2 separate regions of the Homo sapiens genome follow, and region 1 is linked to region 2. Evidence: promoter capture Hi-C in human tissues and cell types (Jung and others, 2019). All regions are on one chromosome and are shown on one strand. Each heading gives the region's core, a stretch centred on a gene start or on the middle of the fragment in contact. The rest is flanking DNA. Distances are from core to core; before and after follow the strand shown.

Region 1 (5,737 bases), core at 1,106-3,605, 47 kb before region 2:
ATGTGTATTTAAAGTTTTATTAGAAACAGTTCACAAAAAGAGATATTCAAATGGCAATAAACATATGAAAAAGTACTTGATATCGTTACTCATTTGGAAAATGCAAATAAAAGTCACAAGGAGATAGTACCCAGAATGGCTAACATTAAAAAGACTGGCAAAACTAAATATTGAGAAGGATATAGGATGTAGAGCAACTGGAACTCTCATACATTGCTTGTGAAAATGTAAATTGATAAAACACTTTGGCAAATTGTAAGTAATTATTGAAGCTAAAGATATTCCAGCTCCATGACTTAGCCATCCCAAGAGCAATGAACATCTCTGCCACCAAAAGACATGTGCAAAAATGCTCACAAGGAAAAAAAATAAAAGCAGAAAATATTGAAATGAAAACAAGTATTCAATAAAAAACAACAGAATCAAAAATTGTCTCTTTGAAAAGATTAATAAAATTGATAACTCTCAGGTGAAAATTAATAAGACAAAAAGTGAGAAGTTACAAAAAGTGAGAAGGAATGAAAATGGAGACATTAAAAAGACCATAAAAATATATTGTGAACAAATTTTTGTCAACAAATTTAAAAATTTAAATATAATAGACAAATTTCTAGGAAAATAAAATCTTGCCAAAAGTGACAGAAGAAAAAATACAAAATCAGAGAAATGTTATAACTTCTAAAGAAACTTAATGTATAATTAAACATTTTCCATATAGAAAACTTTAAGTGCAGCCAGCATTACCAATGAGTTTTTTAAAATACAGTCATGCATCACTTAATATTGAGGATAGATTCTGAGAAATGTATTGGGTGATTTTATCATGGTGTGAATGTCATAGAGTGTACTTACACAAACCTGGATGGTATAGCCTACTATACATGTAGGCTGTAGTCTACAAACCTGTATAGCAAGTTTCTGTAGTGACCTACTGTAGGCGATTGTCACACAATGGCAAGTATTTGTGTATGTAAACATATGTATACATAGAAAAGGGACAGTAAAATACGATATAATCTTATGAGGCCACCATCGTGTATGCTGACTGAAACGTTGTTATGCAGCACATGACTATATATAAAGGAAAAAGTAATGCATCTTACATGAGCTTTTCTAGAAAATAGAAAAATAGAGAGTGCTTCCTAGTTTTTTTGTGAGATCTACATAACCTTGATAATGAAATCTGACAGGAGCTTCAAAAAAAAAGGGGGGGAATCTCAGGTCAATCTTTTTTTCACATACCTAGATAACAAATCTTATATAAAATATTGGCACACCAAATCCAGGAATTTTCTAAAAAGAATAATAGAACAAAATCAACCTGGTTTATTTCTAGTAATGCAAATTTGGTCTTTCAGTGGAAAATTAATGGAATTCATCACATCAACAGACTCTAGAAAACTCATATCTCCTTAGACACAAAAATCATTTGATAACAATCAATATCCATTCATAATAAAAACTGTTAGAAAATCTGAAATAGAAAAGAACATCCCTAGTTCAGTAAAAAGTATTAACGAAGAGAAAAAACAAGCAAACAAAACCTGCTGAAAGCCATTCATCTGAGGTTATGAACAAATCAAGTATGCTCACTGTCATCACTTCAGCCTTATACTGGTGGTCCAAGCCAGTGTAATAATGTTATAAAAAATAGGAATGGAAAATGAAGAAATAAGTTACTATTTTAAGGATTTCAAAGCAGCTTATTAAGTTACCTGAACTACAAAAAAGTAATTAAAATTAAATGTACATAAAAAACAAGATAGCAGAGTTAGAGTAGAGACATAAAATAGAATCAGGGATGAGACTGTAAAAGATAGGTACCACAACATCTTACAGGTGTCCAATCAGTGGGACACAAATCTGATTCTAACCTTTCTAATAGCTATCAGCAAAATGAATTCCAATCAATTTTACAAATCATATGAGATTAAAATGTTCCAGTTGCCTAAGAGAAATATAACCCTTTCTAATGCCAAGGTCAGGTAAGATTATTTCTTGATAGAAAATATAGACAAAATGTGCACTGGGCTTGTGAGAACATAATTATTTTCTATCATCTGGGCTTAAATTTTTATCTATAATTTTATATTTTGAATGGAAAATTTTCATGTTTATACCCTAATTTGTTTCCATTTAGAGTCAGTGGTGGTGTTGACTATCTTGCATATTCTGGAAAAAAAGCTTACAACCAGGTTAGAAATATTTTTCTCATAATAAATTATAGATTTCTACCTGAAGAGCCTGTGAAATATGATGACCCTTTATACAGCCTAGAAGAGCTAAATGAACTGGCCCCTCAAGGATTTGAGTCTCTTCTAGATGTTAAAGGGGTAAACAAAAAAAATCCATTTGCTTCTAAATGGATTGCCTGGACAAATAACTAATCATTCCTACTAAAAATTTTGGTACACTTATGCAAAATATTTACCTAAATTATAAAATGTGACAACAAAAATTAAAGCTTAGTGATAAAGAATACTTATCTCTTTTATAAAGATGTGATATAAATAAATTTTAAACATGATTGATCAACTAGAGACTAATGAGTTATATTCTAAGTGTGATGCTTTTTCAGGCTGATGCCAATTTAATGGGGCTTGATGACTCCTGTTGAAATCTGATTTTTTTCCCTTCAAACTCTGTTAGTATGTTTTAAATACCCGAGCAAAGGAAAATGCTAGAAATGTCTGAGAATGTGTGAGTGCCCAATCCCAGGATCCTATGGAATTAGGAAAAGTATATTTCAATGAAGGAAGTTTTCAAAAAAGTGTCAAGAGTGAGCTCTTATAAAACAGAGTAACAGTGGTAGTCACAAAATAGCCTTTGGAATTTGATGATCCTGATTTTGAGTTCCCTTTTGATCACTTCTAAAAATGTGATTTTGAGTAAGTTATTTACTGTGTATGTCTCGGTTTCTTTATCTAAAATGAGTACATTCATAACATCTTTTTTCATAATATTATTATACAAATTTAGCCAGATATTCATGTAAATTGTCTGGCTCATGTTAAAAAATGATAGCTATTATTATCGGCTGTTACGCAGGTGCCAAAACTTGTAGCAGAAATTGCTATTATTTGACAACACCAAAAAGAAAAGGGTCTGGCCATTATTTTAATGCTTTACCAGGATTTGTATTCCTTGGAATGACTGACACATACATATTTGTTGAGTAAACAAATAAATTAATGTCTGGATATAATCAGTTTTTAAACCGTTTGTTCATTCGGTCACTCATTTATTCAGCAAATAATCATTGAGTACCTCCTATGTGCCAGATGAACTTACATGGAAGTGGAAGAGACAGATATTAATTAAATAAACTCAAATGCAAATTTAAAACTCTAACTGATAAGTTTCTGCAAAGTGCATCATGAGGACATTTTAATCAGTTGAGTCGGCATGCATATGTCGCATGCCTTTTGTAGATTTTGAGCCAGTTGACAGATGGGAAGTTGAGTCCAAGAGTTCAAAGCAGAATGTGAAACAATGCTTGTAAAGGGTTTGGCTCATCTGGAGGGGTTTATTTTGCATGAACACATCTTTCTTGTAAAGCTAAGCTACAAGAGCCTCTCTACCAAGGCGAATCTTTTCACTTATAACTTAGATCTGCTCTCTAGCCTTCACTTCTGACAATAACATGAGAGAACTAAGCACCTTTATGGGTGAAGTAAAACTTCAAGTTAAATTCCATCAGAGAGAATGATATGATGTGAGTATTTGTTCCATTCCCAGGGACAGAGAGGGTTCTGCAGTGGGAAACTTGTTTCAGCACTGAAACCTTCCACAGCTCAAAGTAAAAATGAATGCTATTCCAGTTGTTTTAACATACTTTCACTTTGCTTATGTCAGGCAAATTCATTTTCTCCAGGGAAAGCTCATGTTTTAGTGCTTGAGTTAAAATCTTTCAAGATAATTAAGAGGCAAATTATCCTGTATCATGTATCATCATCACAGATAGTTAATGAATATCCACTGGTTGTGTTTAAATGTGCTGGGCACAGTCATGAATTTTTAATTTCTGGAGAGATGTGAGAACAACTGGCTTAATAAATTCAGTATTATTGTCTATATGTTTCATTATTTTCATTATTTTAGAATGACACCAAAAGCCTGTTGGACCAAGAATGAATGGTGTTCCTTGACCAGGTGTTCTAGGAAATAATTTAAACAGATGTAATTATAGTAAACTACAAACAAACCTTCCAATAACTATGTGAATTGTTCCAACTAAGCTGAAATGGTAATAAAATACCCTATTTTGAGCTTTCACTATGTGCCAGGACCTATTCTAATTGCTTGACATATATTACTTTATTTGATCATCAGAATAATTCTATGAAATAGGTACTGTAATCACCCTTGTTTTATGGGTGAGACTAAGTCACAGAATAGTTAAGAAACTTGCCAAGTCATTAACTGTGAATGGTGAAGCTAAATTTTAAACCTCAACAATCTGGTTTCAGAAACTGTGCTCTTAACCAGTATGATGTACTAGTAATAGTAGTAGTGATAGTAGTAGTAGTAGCAGCGGCAGCAGCAGCAGCAGCAATACGGGAATGAGTAAAAGGAAGGAGAGAGGAAGAGGAGAGGAAAGGAGAAGCAGGAAGAGAAGGAGAATAATTCGGAAGAGATTAGAAGTAGGATTAGTAGTAGAGTGATAGCAGCAGCTTAATACTGAGGAGCAGCAGAGCTGGTGGTGAACAGTGGAAACTCTGGAACCAGATAGCCTTGGTCCAAATCCTAACTATAATCCTAATAAGAAGTGAGATTTTGGGCAAGTCACATAACCTCTTTGTACCTCAGCTTTCTTATCAGTAAAATAGGGATTGGGAAGGATGAAATGCTATAACACATGTGAATACTTAAACTGAACCCTGGCAGATAGTAAGTGTTCAATATATGTTAGCTGTCAATATTGATATTATTGCTATCTGTTCTGTACCCTTAAAATGAATAGCACAGACATGAATGAGAAATCCTTTTCTTTTTACTTCACTCATCTTTAACATCCCCATCACATAATCCTTGCTTAGCTTAGTGTCTTTCTTTTTCTCTGCATCCTAGGATGCATTTTTCAGGAAAATCTTTTTTGCTGGCTCCTGGAGATATATCTTACCTGTTTATACATATTATAAACTTCTCCAGAGCAGAGGCAGCAACACCTTAGAAATATTGAGCTCAGTAGGTGATGAGACAATCCAGGTGACCAGAATAAGGAAACTAAGGCATGCACCTGGGGCTGTGGCCAAGCCCATCCTGGAGGTCTGTGGGGGGTGTCTTCTCAGATAGAGCAGGCTGGCCATCCACATGGGCACTTACGAGAGTCAGGGGCAAGGCCCAAGCAAAGAGAGCAGCTTTAGCGCTGGGCCTTTATCCTTGAGAAGGAAGAGTGTGGGTGGGGAAGGAACATCTTGGTGACAGCAGTAATACGCTTGTTGAGACTGGCTTTCCTTGTTTATGAAAATACAAATTAAAACTTCTAGCTGGGCTCTGGGGCTCATGCTTATAATCCCAGCACTGTGGGAGGCTGGGTGGGAGGATCACTTGAGCCCAGGAGTTTGAGACCAGCCTGGGTAACACAGGGAGACCCCATCTCTACAAAAAATGGAAAAAACAAATTAGTCGGACATGTTAGCGCTCATCTGTGGTCCCAGCTCCTCAGGAGGCTGAGGCGGAGGATTGCTTCAGCCAGGAGGTTGAGACTGCAGTGAGCTATGATTGTACCACTGCA
Region 2 (5,467 bases), core at 1-2,500:
ACCCTGAAATGGTGGAAGAATAAGGAAGAAGCCCATGTTGATGCTCAAAGTCCGCAGAGATAGAGGCAGAGCTGCAGGAGAGAAGGCACTCTAGGGCTGGCTCAAAGCCTGTTCACTCCTGCCGGTCTAGTCTCAGCTGGGTGGGGGTGGGGGTGGGGGGAGAAGCGAAGGTGAGGGCGGGAGGAGCACGTGAGGCTGGGGGTGGGGAAGACTACTCAGGTATGGAAGGGGGTCCCAGATCACTGCTCTGATGTCAAGAGACATGACCTCTCTTTTAATGTCAATGGTTACAGTGAACTTAATCCTGTCCTCTGCAGTTTTTCCTTACTTCGGAAGACAAATCAATCAATCCTACTGCCATCAGTTCACTTCCTGAAATTTGTTCCTAAACAGGGTCCTTCCCACAGTATTCTCCCACCCTATCAACATGCTCAGCTCACAGCATCATTGATTTTCTTGCCTCAAGGAGAGACCCATTTATCTCCTTCCTAGGGGTTGAGAGATGACAGCTTTTTGGGTCAGGTACCTCATCTTTCATTATTCACTCATATTATACCATAATTTTTTCCCCATCATCTCATTTCTCTACCAATCCCCAAGACCTACAGTACTTTTTCATCATAGTCAGACCAGGAGATTCAGGTTCTATATTTTTGTTTACTTTCTACATCCTCTGTTCAGTTTCATGTTGTAACTTCAAAGAGTGGAATCTCTGACCAGACTCAATTATAATAATTACCTTTTACTAAACAATTACTATGTCCTACATACCATAAAAAGAACTTTGCATGGTATTATCTCTTTTAAATCTCACAGTAACATAATGGAGTAAAAGCTATTGTGACATCTTTCTATATACAGGAAAAGCTAGACTTAAAAAGTTAGGTAATTTGTCCAAAGTCACACACTAGGAAATGACTGGGCAAGGAGTGGAGCCCAAGTCTGTCTGAAATCCCCATACTCAAGACTGCTTCCAAACCCCGGGCTAAGTCACACAAACCCCCCATAATTTGGACCTGAATTCTAGCTAGTTGCTTTAATACATAAGCAGGAAAAAATTTCCCCACCAAAATTCAAGGGTCTTTCCTAAACAGGTCATTAATCAATGCCTTCTCTTCAGGAGCCCTTGAAATAGCACATTTATCATGAATCCATGAAGGTGTTTTAAAAAAGTCTCCCAGAGATACTTACTGGATAGACATTTTCTTCCAGTTCAGGATCCAGAGTTCTGGCACCAACTGCAGAATGAAGAAGGAAGTTCTCAGCCAGGGGCCTTTTTATGCCTTCTAAATCCCTTAAAAGGAGTTATGGCTTTGGGAGCCCTTCCCCACCCCTTCAGCTGAGGGAGGGGGAACAGAAGTTGCTTTCAGCTCTCAGATCCCCCTGATGCTTGGCTTTATTTGGGCTTGCTGTTCCCATAACAGTTGTTTGGCTGTTTTCCAGAGACCTCAATCCTTCCCAAGGAGAATGAGAACAGATTAGAAAGAAAGGAGCTAGGTGGGAGTGGCCAGCGTCAGGCCTGAGCTGATCCCAGTCACCCCACTGGACCTTGGCACCATTCTCTGGGGCCCACCTCCCCCTAATACCTCTGTGCCTTCATTCTCACCCTCATTCATTAACTCACTTATTTTTAAAAATATCTATTACATACCACCTATGAACCAGACAGAGATGGGTATTGTCCCTGTCCCTGTCTTCACAGATCTTATAACTCTGTAAGAGTTATAGTAAACAAAGTATTCAACCATGTTTGATTAGTGCTAAGATTGGAGAAGTATAAAATGTTATGGAAGCACATTGTGCACCTCTAACCCTCTCTAGCAACCTTATTGATACCATTCAGTGCCAATATTCTTCCAACCAGGTTGAGGACTTTTGATTTGCTGAGAATGAAATTCTGCATATCTTTGCTTGTCACTAATGCCTGTCTGCTCTCTGCCTCACCTTCTTGTCCATTGGTATATGTTTGGCACTCTGAGAGTATACAGCATCAATTCATTCATATCTCCAATACTCTTTCATTAAGTCTCAGTTGCTTGCCAGCACAGACAAGGTACTGCCCAAAGAAGTCCTTGGAAAACAGGCAAGATATATACTATACCAGCTAACAACCTTAACATTTTTTTTGAGAAACTCATTAACAATTTTAAATTTAGTGTGCAGTTATGGCTACTTACCCTAGGGGTCTTCTTCAACAAAACTGTATAACAATTAATCCAAGTGCTTCCCAAGATATACAACAGTAGCTTCATTTCCTTACAGTGAGGGCATAGGCATGTGATGGGCTCCACCCGTTAGGGACAGTGGTAGAAGTCCTAATGGTAGCACCTGGGGCTTAGCATCCATAATATCTCTGCCCATCCAAGGCAGTTGTAGTGTCTCCATTCAACAGTGGAGCCCGGAATATTGTTACTGGCTGGGTAGCCTCCAAGCTCCATCCTTTAGCCATCCCAGAGATTGTTAGCTCTCTAATATTTACAATATTTGCGTTCTGCTTTATTAGAGTTAGTTCCATTATTTGCAGCTAAGAGCCCTATGCCTATAAAATGATGGTAGTATAAGATACTACCATCATATTTTGGGGGGTATAATCACTTTTGTTGGATCTTGGAGAGTAATAGAAGAGGAGATTAATATCTATCTTTCCACATTAAAAGACCTGTTTCCAAAATATTTCAAATAAGAAACTTCTCCTCAAAGTACAAGGATAATCCAAATCTTCTTAAACCAGCAATAAAAGCATAAAATTTTTATTTAGAATTAAAGCAAATACTTCTGTATCACAAACACAATATTAAACTTCAATAAATATACCACTAATTTGGAGTGAGCACTTATTTGCACAATACCATACTTTTTTTTTTGCTATGAGAATGCTTTATTAGGCAAAACCATATACTATGAAAGTGCTTTAAAATGCAACAGGAGGAGATGTGAAGACACAAAGAACAAGTGCCTAGTGACACATGGATATCAGAACACACCAAGTAAAGTATCCACACTGCTTCCACCCTTTACCAAGAAAAGGAAGGATCTAGGCCACCTCCTCCTCGTCACCGTAGGATGCTGTGGTACCACCCAGGAAGAACATTGATACTGGCATTAGGAACCTCCAGGAGAAAAAGGAAGTATCTAAGCTGAGATGGGATAAATATATAAAAGTTAGCCAGTCAAAGGGCAGGTAGAAGAGTGTTCAGGCACAGCTTGTGTTATTTATAAAAGTCTAGAGGCTAACATAAGGTGGGAAAATAGCTAGAGATGAAACTGGACTAGAGATAATCATAGGCCAGATTGTGTAGAACATCATAAACTAGGCCAGGCACAGTGGCTCACGCCTGTAATCCCGGCCCTTTGGGAGGCCGAGGTGGGCAGATCACGAGGTCAGGAGATCGAAACCATCCTGGCTAACACGGTGAAACCCCGTCTCTACTAAAAATACAAAAAATTATCCGGGTGTGGTGGTGGGCACCCGTAGCCCTAGCTACTCGGGAGGCTGAGGCAGGAGAATGGCGTGAACCCAGGAGGCGGAACTTGCAGTGAGCTGAGATCGTGCCACTGCACTTTAGCCTGGGTGACAGAGCGAGACTCCATCTCAAAAAAAAAAAAAAAAAAAAAAGAACATCATAAACCATTTACAGAAATCCAGACCCTTGTCATGAGAAAAGGGGAATCACTGAAATATTTTATCCAGAGGAGTGACATGATCTGATTTGCATTTTAGTAGGACGACTTAGAATGCATTGTGGATAATATACTGGAATAGGAGATTTGGGCAAGACAAATTAAAGGGAGGCACAGATCAAACAAGTGGAGATAGCTGTTGTAAGCAGGTACACTGAGGGATGGATACGAATAGTGAAATTCAAGAGATACTTCAGAGGAGGCCTAATCTAACTCTGGGACTGGTAAATGTGTTGGGGAAATAAAAGGCATAAAAAAGGATTACCGGTGGGTTTCTGGTTTCTGGTACAATTCATTCAGATAATGCACACCGTGTGTGTGTGTGTGTGTGTGTGTGTGTGTGTGATGTTTCAGGGATACAGAGAAAATGAATTCTGATTGTGATTTGAACTTATTTATTAAAGGAGAAGATCCCCGGGGCCTGTAATCATTTGAGAGCCTAATAGGGAGGCTGAATGAGTTAGCATCTGAAGGATAAGCTCAGTGTTGACATAGAAAAAAGATGGAGGTGGCATTCTTAGGGAAAGATGCAGAGTGAGAGAAGGCAGAGGAATGAGCATGTTAGAAAGACTTTCTCCTGCAGCATTTTTGTTGGATTTTATTTTCTCAGCAGTCTCTTCTCTTCGAGAAGAGCTACAGGCCATGTTGTCATACCTGTACACTGTCAGTTCATTGGAGAGAAATTCCACTAATATCAAGACCCAGCAGCTTTTTAAAATTTTCACCTCTCCCCTCCCATTACAAGAGGCTGAAAGAGAAGTCTTTGTCGGAAAGAAAGCGTATACTAGTTGAGAGAGAGAGCATTAACAAACTGCATTTAAGTTCACCTCCTGGGAGATGAGAATCCGGTCTTGCTGGTGCCCGTGTCTGCACCAAGTGCCTTTCTTAGATATCCCTGTGCTGCCTTTGGTGTTCTGGGGCTATAACCACATTGTTTAAGAACAGCAACTGGTTTTAGCACTTTTTGCATTGTTTTGCGTCTGTGGTATCCTTTATGCTTCAACGTATAGATCCTAGAAGTCAGCTTCTTGAAGGATATTTCTTTTAAAAGTACAAATCATGGCAATTCATTCTAGGAATGCTCACAAACCCGTAGGCCATATGAATCATCAAATTAGTACGCTTGGAGAAATTCAGGATGAAAACTAATTTCTGTGTATTAAATTTCATTGAACCCTGAGCTCCTCAGGTATAAGACAGGGAAAATATGCAAAAGCATTCTTTAGCCAGAAGTATTCCATATGAATATTAAGTAATGCTTATTAATGTCAATTCTCAGGAAGTTTGAGAGTGTCTAATCTTCTAGCTACTACTTCCTACCTCAGAAGTAACCCATTTTTTTCTTATTCTGCCATTGGTGTGAAGTTAAAGATCAGATGTCCACATCCTTTCAAAGCATGATTTTGACCTCTTTGCTCCTATATCCTCAAATGTAGACCTCTTTTCTAGGTCTAACTTTATCTTTCTGTGGTTTCAGTGTGATACACCGGATCCCCAATGTATTGTTACTTCTCTTTTCATCATCTCCTTTTATTCCTTCCCCACCTTAATTTTTTGTCTTTTGGTAAAATCAGATCTTTATGTCCAATTTCTGTGTCTGCCTAAGAAACTGTTATTTTGACATACTTTGGTGTATTTACCAAAATAATATTCCATGAATTAAAATAGCAAAACACCTTTCTACAGAGATTTCTAAATAGAAACTGATTCCACATTTCTTTGAAGAAACTGGTTTAGAGGGTATTATAAAAGCTGCTTTTTCATCCTGATATTAGGCAGATCAGCT

Evidence for each region. The method cuts DNA at HindIII sites, captures the fragments that hold promoters and counts their contacts. A contact is called where the count stands out against the background at its distance.
Region 1: a fragment that was not itself captured here is called in contact with the fragment with the promoter of RPE65 in region 2 in 2 of the 25 tissues and cell types used here (H1 embryonic stem cells and adrenal gland).

Annotation. Positions count from the first base shown.
Region 1 is chr1:68,400,784-68,406,520 of GRCh38, forward strand. No RefSeq gene overlaps it. Among named protein-coding and RNA genes, the nearest start is that of RPE65, 46 kb to the right of the region's middle. The HindIII fragment of the contact is 4,547 bases long and covers 83-4,629 here.
Region 2 is chr1:68,448,704-68,454,170 of GRCh38, forward strand. It overlaps RPE65 (retinoid isomerohydrolase RPE65), which reads right to left and starts at 1,251. Exons shown (of 14, transcript NM_000329.3): 1 at 1,192-1,251; 2 at 1-3. The coding sequence starts at 1,202. LOC124904198 (a long non-coding RNA gene) reads left to right here. Exons shown (of 2, transcript XR_007066164.1): 2 at 1-2,820. The HindIII fragment of the contact is 15,503 bases long and covers 1-5,467 here.